2 separate regions of the Homo sapiens genome follow, and region 2 is linked to region 1. Evidence: promoter capture Hi-C in human tissues and cell types (Jung and others, 2019). All regions are on one chromosome and are shown on one strand. Each heading gives the region's core, a stretch centred on a gene start or on the middle of the fragment in contact. The rest is flanking DNA. Distances are from core to core; before and after follow the strand shown. Region 1 holds the start of NPLOC4 (NPL4 homolog, ubiquitin recognition factor). Region 2 has its middle 5.7 kb from the start of RENO1.

Region 1 (3,578 bases), core at 314-2,813:
TGAGACAGTCTCATTCTGTCGCCCAGGGTGGAGTCCAGTGACGCCACCTAGGCTCACTATGTTGTCCAGGCTGGTCTTGAACTCCTGACCTCAGGTGATCCACCCACCTGGGCTTCCCAAAGTGCTGGGATTACAGGTGTGAGTCACCGCGCCGGGCCTGGAGACCTATTCTAGACAACACCTGGCAAAACTGCAGAGACTGTCACAATGCTACAGTATGAACATTACTCTTCACCCAATACTGCTAAGCTTCCCCCAGAAATCCCAAATCTTCCTTAATATTAACCAAAATGCTCCTGTCCAATGGTCAGTTAGTTTTTTTCCCATCACATTTACTTTTGGGAAGAAACTTCTCACAACTTAACGAGGGACTGGTTTTCTGATTTGTCACTGATATTTTTTACGTTAAGGAGGAGTGTGTGACAATTTTTTTTTTTTTTTTGAGACGCAGTCTCGCTCTATAGCCCAGGCTGGAGTGCCATGGAGGGATCTCAGCTCACTGTAACCTCCACCTCCCGCGTTCAAGCAATTCTCCTGCCTCAGCCTCCCAAGTATCTGGGATTACAGTGCGCCATGACGCCCGGCTAATTTTTTGTATTTTTAGTAGAGACAAGATTTTGCCATGTTGGCCAGGATGGTCTCGAACTCCTGACCCCAGGTGATCCACCCGCCTCGGCCTCCCAAAGTGCTGACATCACAGGCGTGAGCCACTGCGCCGGGCCGACAATTTCAATTTCAGGTAAAAAGTGAAATCAACATCATTTACAACATTCCTTTTAAAGAGGAATTGTCAAGTTGTCCTTCCAAGTAAGGAGCAAAGCCGGCAAGTTACTGTGTTTTCATTTTCCCAGGTCTTCTGGTGGGGAGGGAGCTCTGTAACGTCCCCGTCTGCAGAGCTGCTCTCCTTAGTGACTCATGACAAGGCACTTGCTGGGAAGCGGGAGAGCAGGAGGAGAGAATCAGAGGGAGATTAGGATAAGAGGTGTCCCTGGCTCTGAGAGGGGCAGGACTGGCTGGGAGTCCCTGGAATTAGACCAGGAAGTCTCCTGGAGCCGGGAAACGGGTGGGGAAGGAGGGCGGTTTCTCTTCGCCACAGTCCATTCTCCCTGCTTAGAAAGGCTCGGCCTTTCCCTGCCCAGGGCGGGGAACCGGGGTCGTAAGTCCCCTGGGGAGGGACACGGACGGGAAGCAGCCGAGGGGGGTGAAAGTCCCCGAGAGGGGCCCAGCCACTACAGAGAAAGCCCTGGCGAGAGAAGAGAAAGGGGCCGAGTCGCGGCGCCGGCAGGCCCGCCTCCCCCACAGGCCGAGGCCGGCAAATCTGCTGCCTCATCCCGGCGTCCCCGCTCCCGCCCGGCCGCCGCACTCACGATGCTCTCGGCCATGGCGGCTGCTCCTGCCTCCGGGCTCGAGCCCCGGGCCGCCGCCGCCTGCCGCCCCAAGGGCCTCGCAGACCCGGCCGCGGCCTCAGCCCCGGCCCCGGCCTCCCTACGCCGCCGCCACCGCCGCTCCAGCTTCGCCCGCCCGGCTCCGCCAGCCGCCGACGTCCCGGTGCCTCGCTCAATACGCTCCCCTCGGGCGCGAGGCCGGGAAACCAGGTTCCGGCCCCACCAACGGCTCGACGCATGCGCAGGGCGGCGCCGCTGACCCGCCCCCGCCATCCCTGCAACTGGAGGAGGGGATTTTGGAAAGTTGCGTCTGAGATTACTTCTGCTCGTCCTCGGAAACCCAAGCGGCACAGGAAAGTCCAAAAAGGAAGCAAAGACGAGCATCCGAAGTCTCACCCAAAAATAACTACTGCTGCGTATTATAGCGTATTATAATTGGGGAAACAGCATTCCAAACTTCTCTCCATGCACAGGTAAGTAGAGAAACAATTTCAGGAAGGCAGGATCACACCTTCATGTTTTTTTTTTTAAGTATTTTTTAAATTTAACATAAGAAAAACAAACGAGTTTAAACTGCATTTCAGGCCGGGCGCGGTGGCTCATACCTGTAATCCCAGCATTTTGGGAAGCCAAGGTGGACGGATCACCTGAGGTCAAAAGTTCGAGACCAGCCTGGCCAAAATGGTGAAACCCCGTCTCTACTCAAAATACAAAATTAGGCCATACGCGGTGGCTCACGCCTGTAATCCCAGCACTTTGGGAGGCCGAGGCAGGTGGATCACCTGAGGTCAGGAGTTCAAGACCAGCCTGACCAACGTGGTGAAACCCCGTCTCTACTAAAAATACAAAAATTAACTGGGCGTGGTGGCGGGCACCTGTAATCCCAGCTACTCGGGAGTCTGAGGCCGGAGAATCTCTTGAAGCGAAGAGGCGGAGGTTAGAATGAACTGAGTTGGTGCCACTGCACTCCAGTCTGGGCGACAGAGTGAGACTTCATCTCAAAAAAAAAAAAAAAAGACGTCACTTCACAGATTCTAAGGATTTTTGGAGTTGGATACCAGGAAACCGGAAGACTAAATGTATACATATTTCACAACATCACAATTACTGTGACAGTTTTTTTAAACTATGTTAAATTACATTAATTGATTAAATTATGTTAGTAATTGTATTAGTTTGCTCAGGGTGCCACTGTAACTACCCAACATATTGTCCCTGCCCACTGCCTAGACTTTATCAAGACAGGGGAATTGCAATAAAGAGTTTAATTCACACAGAGCCAGCTTGTACAGGTTACTGAGGTTTTATTACTACTCAAAAAAAATTAGTGTCCTTGAGAATTCAGGGATCAGAGTTTTTTGTTTTTTGTTTTTTTTTGTTTTTGAGTCCGAATCTCACTCTGTCACCCACACTGGAGTGCAGTGGCGCGATCTCGGCTCACTGCAACCTTCACCTCCTGGGTTCCAGTGATTCTCCTGCCTCAGCCTCCCGGGTAGCTGGGACTACAGGCGCACACTACCATGCCTGGCTAATTTTGTATTTTTCGTAGAGACGGAGTTTCTCCATGTTGGTCAGGCTGGTCTTGAACTCCTGACCTCAGGTGATCCGCCCACCTGGGCCTCCCCAAAGTGCTGGGACTATAGACGTGAGCCACCGTGCCCGGCTGGGGATCCGCGGTTTTAAGGATAATTTGGTGGGTATGGGGTCAGAAAGTAGGGAGTGTTGATTGGTTGGGTCAGAGGTGAAATGATAGGGAGTCAAAACTGTCCTCTTGTGCTGAGTCGGTTCCTGGGTGGGGGCCACAAGATATGAGCCAGTTTATCAATCTGGGTGGTGCCAGCTGATCCATGGAGTGCAGAGTCTGCAAAATATCTCAAGCGCTGATCTGTTTTTTAATAGTGATGTTATCCTGAGAAGCAATTTGGGAGGTTTAGAATCTTGTAGCCTCCAGCTACATGACTCCTAAACCATAATTTCTAATCTTATGGCTAATTTGTTAGTCCTGAAAAGGCAGTCTTGTCCCCAGGTAGGAAGGGAGTTTGTTTTGCAAAGGGCTGTTACCATCTTTGTTTCAAAGCTAAACTATAAACTAAGCGCCTCCCGAAGTTATTTCAGCCTACACCCAGGAATGAACAAGGACAGCTTGGAGGTTAGAAGCAAGATGGGTTCAGTTAAGTCCGATCTCTTTAACTG
Region 2 (3,795 bases), core at 812-3,311, 290 kb before region 1:
TAAAGGCTTGGGAACGCTGGGAAGAGGGAGGAAAGAGCCAGAAGGTTAGCGCGAGGCACTCATTCCCTGTAGCTTGACTACTGTTTCCAGAAATTGAGGGCCGGTTTGCAATTAGAGTTACCCCAGAAAGTTGGGACTCCCAGGTTGAAAAAGCCACTGTTTATGCCTCAAACAGTAGGAGAAAAGATGGTGGCTGTTCAAGGCCTGTCACTCAGGCAGCTCAGTCCAACAAAAGTGTGCAGGCCTACGGCAAAGATCAGATGAAGGCTCAGGTTGCGGGGGGAGGGGAGCAGATGGCTTAATGAATCATCTGTCAGTTGGACCCGGAAGACAGTCATCGGGACCCACGGAAAGGCTCTGCCCATCCTAGAGAGGCAGGCTTTGGGCTGGGTCTTCTCCCTGGAGATGATGGTGACTTTTTCTAACACGATGTGTGGAGGAAGGGTGGGTCTCACAGATGTCTGGAGGCCAAGGGCTGGCTGGCTGCCGTCCGGCTGTCCAACAGAAGCCGTTACCCCTTCTCATGGGGCCCCTGGCTGGTCTGCATTCCCAGGCTCCCTCGCAGTAGGTGTGGCTGGGTAACCGTGGTGTCCAACAGAATCTGGCAGAAGCAGTGTGCACCAGTTTCAGGAGCAGGTCACCCTTCCAGGAGGCTTTTAGGGTTCCCCCTTCTGATGGCTGAAATGGGCACATCAGAGAGACTGTGGAAGACAAATGTGCAAGATGACAGGGCAGCCTTCAGCCTGGGGCCCAACCAGGCCCCACCCCGCAGGAGCACTTGCTTGGGCAGGTCAGGGATAAATAAGCCGCGGGCTGGCATGGGCAGCTACGTTTGGGGTCTATTTGCTACAGTTGTGTAACTTGCACTGAGCAAGAGTTTCAGAACACACAGTGTTCAAAAACACCAGTAATAGCTTCAGAGAGAAAAGAGATTTTGTTCTTTAAAAAAAGAATCTGGGGAAGTGAACTCAGATTTTTGCTTCCTTCCTCATAATTTTAGGTAGTATTCAAAAATTTACAAGAAGATTCAGAAATAATAACCAAGAAAACTGCATTCATGTGAACAAATAAAAATAAGCTTTGGGGCTGGGCACAGTGGCTCGCGCCTGTAATCCCAGCATTTTGGGAGGCCAAGGCGGGTGGATTGCTTGAGGTCAGGCATTTGAGACCAGCTTGACCAACATGGTGAAACCCTGTCCCTACTAAAAATACAAAAATGAGCTGGGCGTGGTGGCGGGTGCCTGTAATCCCAGCTACTCAGGAGGCTGAGGCAGGAGAATCACTTGAATCCGGGAGGCAGAAGTTGCAGTGAGCCAGGACTGCGTCATTGCACTCCAACCTGGACAACAAAGTAAGACTCTGTCTCAAAAATTATAAAAAATAAATAGAGGCCGGGCACGGTGGCTCACACTTGTAATCCTGTATCTGGAATTGGTGGGTTCTTGGTCTCACTGACTTCAAGAATGAAGCCGTGGACCGTCACGGTGAGTGTTACAGTTCTTAAAGGCGGCGTGTCTGGAGTTTGTTCCTTCTGATATTCAGATGCGTTCGGAGTTTCTTCCTTCTGGTGGGTTCGTGGTCTCGCTGGCTCAGGAGTGAAGCTGCGGACCTTCGCGGTGAGTGTTACGGCTCTTAAGGCAGCGCGTCTGGAGTTGTCCTTCCTCCCGGTGGGCTCGTGGTCTCGCTGGCTTCAAGAGTGAAGCTGCAGACCTTCGGGGTGAGTGTTACAGCTCATAAAGGCAGTGTGGACCCAAAGCGTGAGCAGTAGCAAGATTTATTGCAAAAAGCGAAAGAACAAAGCTTCCACAGCGTGTAAGCAGACCAGAACAGGTTGGCACTGCTGGCTCGGGCAGCCTGCTTTTATTCTCTTATCTGGCCCCACCCACATCCTGCTGATTGGTAGAGCCCAGTGGTCTGTTTTGACAGGGCACTGATTGGTGTGTTTACAATCCCTGAGCTAGACACAAAGGTTCTCCACGTCCCCACCCGATTAGCTAGATACAGAGTGTCTACACAAAGGTTCTCCAAGGCCCCACCAGAGTAGCTAGATACAGAGTGTCGATTGGTGCATTCACAAACCCTGAGCTAGACACAGGGTGCTGATTGGTGTGTTTACAAAACTTGGACTAGATACAGAGTGCCGATTGGTGTATTTACAATCCCTTAGCTAGACATAAAGTTCTTCAAGTTCCCACTAGACTCAGGAGCCTAGCTGGCTTCACCCAGTGGATCTCGCACTGGGGCTGCAGGTGGAGCTGCCTGCCAATCCCGCGCCGTGCGCCCACGCTCCTCAGCCCCTGGGTGGTCGATGGGACTGGGCGCCGTGGAGCAGGGGGTGGCGCTCGTCGGGGAGGCTCGGGCTGCACAGGAGCCCACGGGTGGGGGGCGCGGGGCGGGGACGGGAGGCTCAGGCATGGCAGGCTGTAGGTCCCAGCTCTGCCCCACGGGAAGGCAGCTAAGGCCTGGCGAGAAATCCAGCGCAGCGCCGGTGCGCCGGCACTGTTGGGGGACCCAGCACACCCTCCGCAGCCGCTGGCCCGGGTGCTAAGCCCCTCATTGCCCGGGGCTGGCAGGGCCGGCCGGCTGCTCCGAGTGCGGAGCCCGCCAAGCCCACGCGGAACTCCAGCTGGCCCGCAAGCGACGCACGCAGCCCCAGTTCCCTCTCGCGCCTCTCCCTCCACACCTCCCCGCAAGCTGAGGGAGCCGGCTCCGGCCTTGGCCAGCCCAGAAAGGGGCTCCCACAGTGCAGCGGCGGGCTGAAGGGCTCCTCAAGTGCCGCCAGTGGGAGCCCAGGCAGAGGAGGCGCCGACAGCGAGCGAGGGCTGTGAGGACTGCCACACGCTGTCACCTCTCAATCGCAGCACTTTGGGAGGCCGAGGCGGGTGGATCACGAGGTCAGGAGATCGAGGCCATCCTGGCTAACACGGTAAAACCCTATCTCTACTAAAAATACAAAAAATTAGCCGGGCGTGGTGGCGGGCGCCTGTAGTCCCAGCTACTTGGGAGGCCGAGGCAGGAGAATGGCGTGAACCCAGGAGGCGGAGCTTGCAGTGAGCCGAGATCGCGTCACTGTACTCCAGCCTGGGTGACAGAGCAAGACTCCGTCTCAAAAATAAATAAATAAATAAATAAAAAATTGGGCTCGTTTGGTTTTGTGGAGTGTTTTGAGACAGGGAGTACAGCAGCAGGGTCACTGTAGTACAGCACAGGAGTCACTGCAGCCTCCACCTCCCAGGGTCACGCAATCCTCCCACCTCAGCCTCCCAAGTAGCTGGGACCAGAGGGTTTGAGCCACTACACCCAGCTAATTTTTCATGTTTGCTTTGTAGAGATGAGGTCTTGCTATGTTTTCCAGGCTGGTCTGAAACTCCTGGCCTCAAGTGATCCTCCCTCCTTGACCTCCCAAAGTGCTGGGATTACAGACATGAGCCACCTCACCCCGCCCCACTTTCTTTTTTTTTCTAATCAGCCCCAACTCATTATTTATTTTCACTGGTCTCTAACCAAAATTTGACATTTCCTTCAGTGATGAATGTATGACATAACTAAAATAACTAAAATGACTCAAATCATGCTGCGATTGTTGCAGATATCTTTTTTTGGAAACGGAGTCTTGCCCTGTCGCCTAGGCTGGAGTGCAGTGGCGCCATCTCGGCTCACTGCAACCTCTGCCTCCCGGGTTTAAGCGATTCTCCTGTCTCAGCCTCCCAAGGAGCTGGGACTATAGGCGCACGCCACCACGTCTGGCTTATTTTTGTATTTTTAGTAGAGACGGGATTTCACCATGTTGGCCAG

Evidence for each region. Contacts are between HindIII fragments. The study calls those that stand out against the background at their distance.
Region 2: a fragment that was not itself captured here is called in contact with the fragment with the promoter of NPLOC4 in region 1 in 2 of the 25 tissues and cell types used here (dorsolateral prefrontal cortex and thymus).

Annotation. Positions count from the first base shown.
Region 1 is chr17:81,635,549-81,639,126 of GRCh38, forward strand. NPLOC4 (NPL4 homolog, ubiquitin recognition factor) reads right to left here and starts at 1,564. Exons shown (of 17, transcript NM_017921.4): 1 at 1,368-1,564. The coding sequence starts at 1,382. TSPAN10 (tetraspanin 10) reads left to right here and starts at 1,648. Exons shown (of 4, transcript NM_001290212.2): 1 at 1,648-1,858. RefSeq lists a silencer at 1,294-1,503. The HindIII fragment of the contact is 41,196 bases long and covers 1-3,578 here.
Region 2 is chr17:81,349,750-81,353,544 of GRCh38, forward strand. No RefSeq gene overlaps it. Among named protein-coding and RNA genes, the nearest start is that of RENO1, 5.7 kb to the left of the region's middle. The HindIII fragment of the contact is 3,176 bases long and covers 474-3,649 here.